Regions from separate parts of the Homo sapiens genome. Here region 1 is linked to region 2. The links are contacts of gene promoters, found by promoter capture Hi-C in blood cells and fetal thymus (Javierre and others, 2016). All regions are on one chromosome and are shown on one strand. Each heading gives the region's core, a stretch centred on a gene start or on the middle of the fragment in contact. The rest is flanking DNA. Distances are from core to core; before and after follow the strand shown. Region 1 has its middle 37 kb from the start of MRPL15. Region 2 holds the start of PLAG1 (PLAG1 zinc finger).

Region 1 (3,326 bases), core at 530-3,029, 2.0 Mb after region 2:
ACAAAAAAGCCTTAATTAGACTTTATTTAGATACAGGTTTTCATCATGTCATTCTTATACACACACACACAAAGGAGCATATAATTTTTAAAACCAGTTAGGATAGTTCTAGATCTTTTTCAATTCAGAGTCCAAGTATCAAAGGGCGAGAACCGTGTATTAGGTGTCAAGGTCAGAAGCAGAATCCAGCATTCCAAATTCTACCACCTGCGGCCTGTTCATTGTGGTCCATGAGTTTCCACTCAAAGGTCTTTGCTCTGTGCCATCAGGACACCGGCAGCATTTTCTCCTGGACCTTCATCAAGCCTCAGACACCTCTTTTGCAAGTTTTGGTGTGCTGTTTTCTTGACCTTACCTGGGGTGTCAAGAAGCTTTCAGAACACAGCCACAGTCCCTTCCAAATGATCCTTCTGGGGTTGTTGTCTGAAACAGCGGAGACTGGCATCCTTTTATGCCAACAAGAAGACAACTAAGTGTGTGCATCATGGACAAGGATGACCATGGGGCTGACGGCCATCTGATCACCTAGGAGGATCACAAGATGCTCACTGGGGCTGAGCCCCATCTCAGCACCGACCACAGACAGGCATTCCTACCAGCCCCAGGAAGAGGGCTGCGAGGGGTGAGTTAATTTACATAAAGAACTTAGACCTAGGCCTGGCACACAGAAAGCACTCAATAAATGTCAGTTATGTGTGTGTGTTTGAAGAAATACTGTAGTAAATTATTAGTGTTTTATAAAGTTGAGATTTTCGTTTTGTTTTGTAGATTGAGCAGGGCTTATGCATACCTGCAAGATAAGGAAAATGAGCTCAACTACTACACCATTTACATGCTTTCAAAAGTATTTTATAATTTGGGGAGGGCTATGAGGGAGAGGAATAGATAAGCAAAATAATCTTTCTTTAGTTTTGCCAGACAGCCAGGCTGTCCTGTTGATGAAAATGAAATGTACATAACCACATAGCTAGGATTCAGACCAGCTCAAAGAAGTCACAGCACACAGAGATATTCCTTATGGTTCAGCGCAATTGTCTAAATAAACTTTGCGGCCATGCGCGGTGGCTCACGCCTGTAATCCCAGCACTTTGGGAGGCCGAGGCAGGTGGATCACCTGAGGTCAGGAGTTTGAGACCAGCCTGGTTAACATGGTGTAACCCTATCTCTACTAAAAATACAAAAATTAGCCAAGCATGGTGGTGGGCACCTGGAATCCCAGCTACTTGGGTGGCTGAGGCGGGAGAATCACTTGAACCTGGGAGGCAGAGGTTGCAGTGAGCGGAGATCACGCCATTGCACTCCAACCTGGGCAACAAGAGCGAAACTGTATCAAAAATAAATAAATAAATAAATAACTTTTTCCCCAATTTTCTCCACTTCCAATGATTTAAATGTATCTCAGTTATCATGTAGTGTACTTAGGAACTAAAAACAGCCTTGTTGGTTTTCTTTGTGTTATGATTTGGAACACTGGATTCTGCTTCTGACCTTGACACCCAATACACAGTCCTCGCCCTGCAAGAGTTCATTTAGAGATGGAAAAGATTCTCCCCATGGAGGAGCTGTCAGAATAGGGAGTGGGAACAAAGACCAGGACACCCTCTCCCAGTTCCTGCTGCATGAGTAATCAGAAGCCACAGAAGGCAGTGTGGCTCAGCTGGCCCAGGCTGGTGCTCTGCTCAACTGGAAAAGCCTTTATTTCACAATCCTTTTTGAGTAATAGAAAATATTTTAACCCTTAAACACCATCACTCCTTTATCCATGCATTTATTTTCAGTGTAATTTGGTATTTCTAAGACTATTTGAAATCCGGATTTGGCAACTCACTGGCTACAGGGATCAAAGTTCTGCTCTCTTTGGGTTTACCTATAAAATGAGAATAAATAACTGGGTGCAGTGGCACATGCCTATAATCCCAGCTACTCAGAAAGCTAAGGCAGGATTGCTTGAGCACAGAAGTTCAAGACCAGCCTGGGCAACATAGCAAGACCCCGTCTCAATTTTAAAAGAAAAGAAAATACTGTTGCATCACGAGGGAAAAAAAAGAAAAAAAAAAGTTATCTCTTGAGCTGCCAATGTCTGTGACTGATTTCCAATTAGAATCAACTAAAATGGCCAGGCACGGTGGCTCACACCTGTAATCCCAGCACTTTGGGAGGCCGAGCAGGGCAGATCACTTGAGTTCAGAGTTCAAGACCAGCCTGGCCAACATGGTGAAACCCCGTCTCTAATAAAAATACAAAAATTAGCCTGGTGTGGTGGCACGTGCCTGTAATCCCAGCTACTCGAGAGGCTGAGGCAGGAGAATCACTTGAATCCAGGAGGCAGAGGTTGCAGTGAGCGAGATCGCGCCATTGCTCTCCAGCCTGGGCAACAGAGTGAGACTCCATCTCAAAATAATAATAATAATAATAATTAACTAAAATGAGAATGAATAGCATAGACCCAGGCGGCAGGTGCACAGGGAGCAGCAGTAGTTTGGGGCACTTGCCAACTCTCCCCATTTGCAGGCCATTTTGTCAGGCTTCCAACCTTAGAAAACAATTGTTAGCTTAGAACATGGTTTTGGGCCAAAATATAAGGACTTTTTACTTTGACAAACACTGTAAAGTTGCCCTCAAAAAGGATATGCCAAGTATAGTCCCAACGATGGTGTAAGAGGGTACCCAGTTCCACATATTCTCGCTGACACTGGATTCTGCAATTATGATTTCATTCTTGGTAAGGTTGTGCAGACTCCGTATGCTTATGGACTACTTTTTCAGATTTCTCATTTCCCTGTTGGGGTGTTTCATCCATCCACAGTCTTTGCACCTTACAGCAGTAACCTAACAGGTGGACATCCACTCAGACTGAAGAGGACCATGAGCACATAAGCTGGTGCAGTGGAAAAAAAGGGAACTCCAATTCCCAAGGTCATTAGGCCCAACACAAGCTGGGACCCTCTCCCAGAAGCCTGCTCTCAAAACCTTCAGGCAGAGGGGATAAAAGTGCTTCAAGGAACGCTTACTGTGTTTCGCCCTTCATGAAAAGAGTCAGTGGGCTGTCACTGTGTGGAGACAAAGCCAGGAGGGTGAGGCCTGTGGCGATTTGGTGCAGCCCAGAAGTGCAGGGCGAGCAGCTGCGGCCAGTTCTCCCTCCTGTCACTTAGCCTCTCGCCTTGGAGTTCCCGTAGCTGTAAGCTTGAAGTCTCAATTTATAGATTTCTTTGTTTATTCTAAAGTAAAGAAGCAGGAAGTTCATTTTTACCATGACCTTGACTAGATGTCTTTGATGATCATGTTTAATGGGTTAAAAATTCAACATCGTTTATTTATGTCATTAT
Region 2 (3,668 bases), core at 1,045-3,544:
TACAAAAATTAGCTGAGCGTGGTGGCACGCGCCTGTAATCCCAACTACTCAGGAGGCTGAGGCAAGAGAATCGCCTGAACTTGGGAAGCAGAGGTTGCAGTGAGCCGAGATCGCGCCACTGCACTCCAGCCCAAGCGACAGCAGTGGAAGACGCCGTCTCAAAAAAAAAAAAAAGAGACACCCAGCCCAGTTCTACTATGGGAAAGATCAGGACGTCCAGGCCAAAGGAGACCAGCCTTTGCAAAAAAAAGAATGGAAAAGGGTTTGGTTATTCTGGTGTCCATTAAGTAATCACTGAATAATAATTTTATGATTTTCATTGAACAATACAAGAAAATAACCAGCCAACAGTAACATCTTGGCAAAAAAGAAATCAAGATGCTGTTCAATTATATCTACAAGCTTCTTCCTCTCCTGAAGACAATTTTTTTCCACACTTCCCTTCTTCCTAAGAGAGATGATGATAGTAAATAAATTCACAGCTTTCTTTTTTACACCTATCCTATGATGTGAGAACACAGAACTCTTCATACACCTTAGATTTAATAATCTCAACAAGGATCAGACAACCTTGCATTAAATTTAAGTTTCGTGCCTTACATGAAAGTATCCTACTCTATATTTTATTGTCAGTCAGAAATTCTTCAAAAATAATACCTAGGTAACATCACATATACCCAGTTCGAGTTTGGTGCATGAGTTTCTTCACATTTCATTTCCTTTTCCTTCCGGATTCTAAATACAAGGCACTCTAAGTTTGGATTTCCGAAAGTCCCCTCCTTTGCATGAGTTCCTCGTGTATTAACTGGAATTGAAGAGGAAATGTCAATTTACAGTGAGGAGCGGGGCTGAATTACAACATCGAGTGCTCCGCTAAAGGGGCCTTGTCTATTACTTTTTGAATGTACTAAATAAATGTTACAAGGCTCTACTACTTGCAGAGCATAACCAGAAAGAAAAACCAAGCAAAGATATGAAGGAGGGGCCACAAAACCATAGCACATTCAGGGGATAACTCTAAAATCCACTCCAAAGGGCAAACTGCTTAATAAAGCAGTTCCTGATTTCCCATCCAGTGGTTCACGTCCCCCCTCTCTAAGTAGCTTTGAAAGGGCAGGGGGAAGGAAACGTTTCTGAACACGTTCATGCCCACACGCCCCGTGGTCGGAGCCCAGGCAGGGTCCGCGGCTCTGCTAAACCCGGAAGCTGCACACGCCGTGCCGTTAACCCACTGCCAGGTGCAAAGTGGAAGGGGGCAAGAAGTCAAGGGTGGCCTGCCGGAGGTGGGCGCGCAGGGCAAGGAGAAACGAAGGGCGAACCCGAGGCCTCGCCGCCTTCCGCGGTGTAGCCCGTCAGCATCTGATCCTGGACGGCGCGCACAGGTGAACACACCTTGCTGTGCCGAGACCATGCCGAGAGAGACAAGGGGCGAGGAAAACGCAGGGAACTGGGGGTGGGGCCGGTAACTGCGCTTCAGAGGCTACACAGGAGAGTGGAAGAAGAGCTGGGGTTGCCCGGACTAGGCAGAGGTCATCTTCCTCGCCCCCGGAGCGAACAGACCCGTGTGGCGGGAGGAAGAGCAACGGGAAGAGGTCCGCGCTGCGGCGAAGCCTGGCGGGAGCGCCTCCGCGCCGCAGAAGTGCATTCGGGCCCCGCTACGGCCCAAGGGCACCCCTCTCTCCCCGCTTTTCTGCGGCCGCTTCGGAGGTAGGGCGGGGGAACCACTCACCTCCGGCCTCCGCTTCGCCAGCACCCAGGCCGTCTCCAGCTCCAAACACGTCAATGGCTCACGCAGCAGGACCTTAAGTAGCGCGCATCCCAACTTGCTGCCCCCGCTCCCCGGCGGCAGCCCGCCCAATCGGCGCGCGCCGCCGCCAGACTGACAGCCGCGCGGGGCCCTGGGCCGCAGGGGCGGTCGGGCCTCGCCCCGCCCCCGCCTGGCGAAAGGAGGGCCGAGGCGGGAGGAGTGGGCGGGGCGGTGAGCGCGACCCCGCCCCCTCTTCCCCCGCCCCACCGCGCCCCCCAGCCGCGGCCCGTCTCTTAACACTTCGGCTTGACGGGCGGCGTCGCGGCCCAATGGGCGGGCCAACTCCCGCCAGCGGCGGCTCCGAGTGGCCAGCTCTCGGGCGGAGCGCGCGCGGGGGGCGGGCGCAGCGGCGGGCGGGGTTTGGGGGCGGGCCGACGGGAGGCGGGGGCGGTGGCCGAACAGGCAGGGGGAGGCAGCGGTGGGCGCGACGTCGGCGGCGGCGGCGGCGGCGGCGGCGGCAGCTGCAAGTTGGGCTGCAGGGGCAGCGCATACACTACAATGGCTGCTGGAAAGAGGCGTAAGGAAACAATTTCCAGGCCCGCCGCGTCCAGCCCGAAATATGAGAAAAAAATTATTAGAAATTCCGCGGGCGGTGTAGAGGCGGCGGACGGGCCGGAGGGAGGATGTTAAAGCCCCGCGGTGAGTTCTCCGGGGGTCCGGGGCGGCGGCGAGGCGTTTAGCGGGAGAAATATCAGGGTTATTTAAATTATGGGACTAGCCGAGGGGGCAGAGGAGCAGCGGCGGCGGCAGGAGGAGGAAAAGTTTGTGCTACTCTCAGCCCCTGCTCAGGACCCCAGAGAGAAAAATAATAATAAAAAATAAAATAAAATAATTACGCGGGGCTGCGAGGACTCCCGAAGTCGCTTCTGACAGGGCAGGGGGCGATGCGGCTGGGGACCCGAAGGTGAGGTCGGTGGGAAAAAAAAAAAAACCTTTATTCAGGGTCTGGAAAGTTTGAAAAGTTTTCCTCCTCCTCCTCCTCCTCCTCCTCTCTGGTGCTGTGAATATTGTGACAGCGGCAGCGGCAGCAGCGAGAGCGGAAGACATTAGAGACCCGAAAAATAAGGGAAAAATTAATATAAATTCAGTTTTGAGAGTAAACTCTCCGCATTTTCCACCAAAACATCCCGGGGGAAGGTCGCTTCCCAAAGGGCCTGGCGGAAACCCGCAGTCGGCAATATTTGGGGGGCACTTTGAGTGACTTGGGGTAACTTTGCCCCTTTTTCAAAAGAGGTTTTTCTTTTCTGGAGAAATGAATTTGTTTTTGCCCTTTCCTCAGGTGGGCAAGCCGGGGTCGGGGTGCGGGGTCTGCAGGGAGGTGTGAGCCCGGGGTGTGTGGCTGCGAGGGGGGGTAGGGGGAGGGGGTGCTAAATGAAAGCAGGAGATCGGCACAGAGCAGGGACAGCTTGTTGTCAGTATCATAAACAACCAAAATGGAGGGAGAACTCAGGCATATAACCAAATAAAAATTTTTAAAAAATCGCAAAAAATCCCTAAAAATCCGGGATGCTCCCCCTTTTCTCGCTAAAGGTAAAAGTATGTACCGCCTTTCCCCTGAAGTCCATTTTGACTTTGCAGGGACCAAGGAGTTAATATTTATTTATTTTTTAAAACTTTCGAAGGGCAAAAGCCTTTTATAACTCAACCGACAATGAGAAAACGTGAAAATCCGATGCAAGAGAAGCAGGGGGAGCGAGGGGGGAGGTGGTAGTGCAGAAACTGCTAAACTTATTGGTAATGTGGACTGATCTCAGATAAGATAAACACTATATTTGCTATTTTATAACTCTCTTTTAATGATCTTTGCGGGGTTTTTTTGGGTGGAAAAAAAAGTGATGCCATTTTCTTAATAGAGTTAATA

The links. The method cuts DNA at HindIII sites, captures the fragments that hold promoters and counts their contacts. A CHiCAGO score of 5 or more calls a contact.
Region 1: a contact is called between a fragment that was not itself captured here and the fragment with the promoter of PLAG1 in region 2, in 1 of 17 cell types (total CD4 T cells). The highest score is 7.0, in total CD4 T cells.

The regions. Positions count from the first base shown.
Region 1 is chr8:54,170,228-54,173,553 of GRCh38, reverse strand. No RefSeq gene overlaps it. Among named protein-coding and RNA genes, the nearest start is that of MRPL15, 37 kb to the right of the region's middle. The HindIII fragment of the contact is 2,812 bases long and covers 374-3,185 here.
Region 2 is chr8:56,209,899-56,213,566 of GRCh38, reverse strand. PLAG1 (PLAG1 zinc finger) reads left to right here and starts at 2,294. Exons shown (of 5, transcript NM_002655.3): 1 at 2,294-2,446. It overlaps CHCHD7 (coiled-coil-helix-coiled-coil-helix domain containing 7), which reads right to left and starts at 1,778. Exons shown (of 4, transcript NM_001011671.3): 1 at 1,730-1,778. RefSeq lists enhancers at 1-29, 1,600-1,669 and silencers at 1,682-1,907, 1,750-2,309. The HindIII fragment of the contact is 9,849 bases long and covers 405-3,668 here.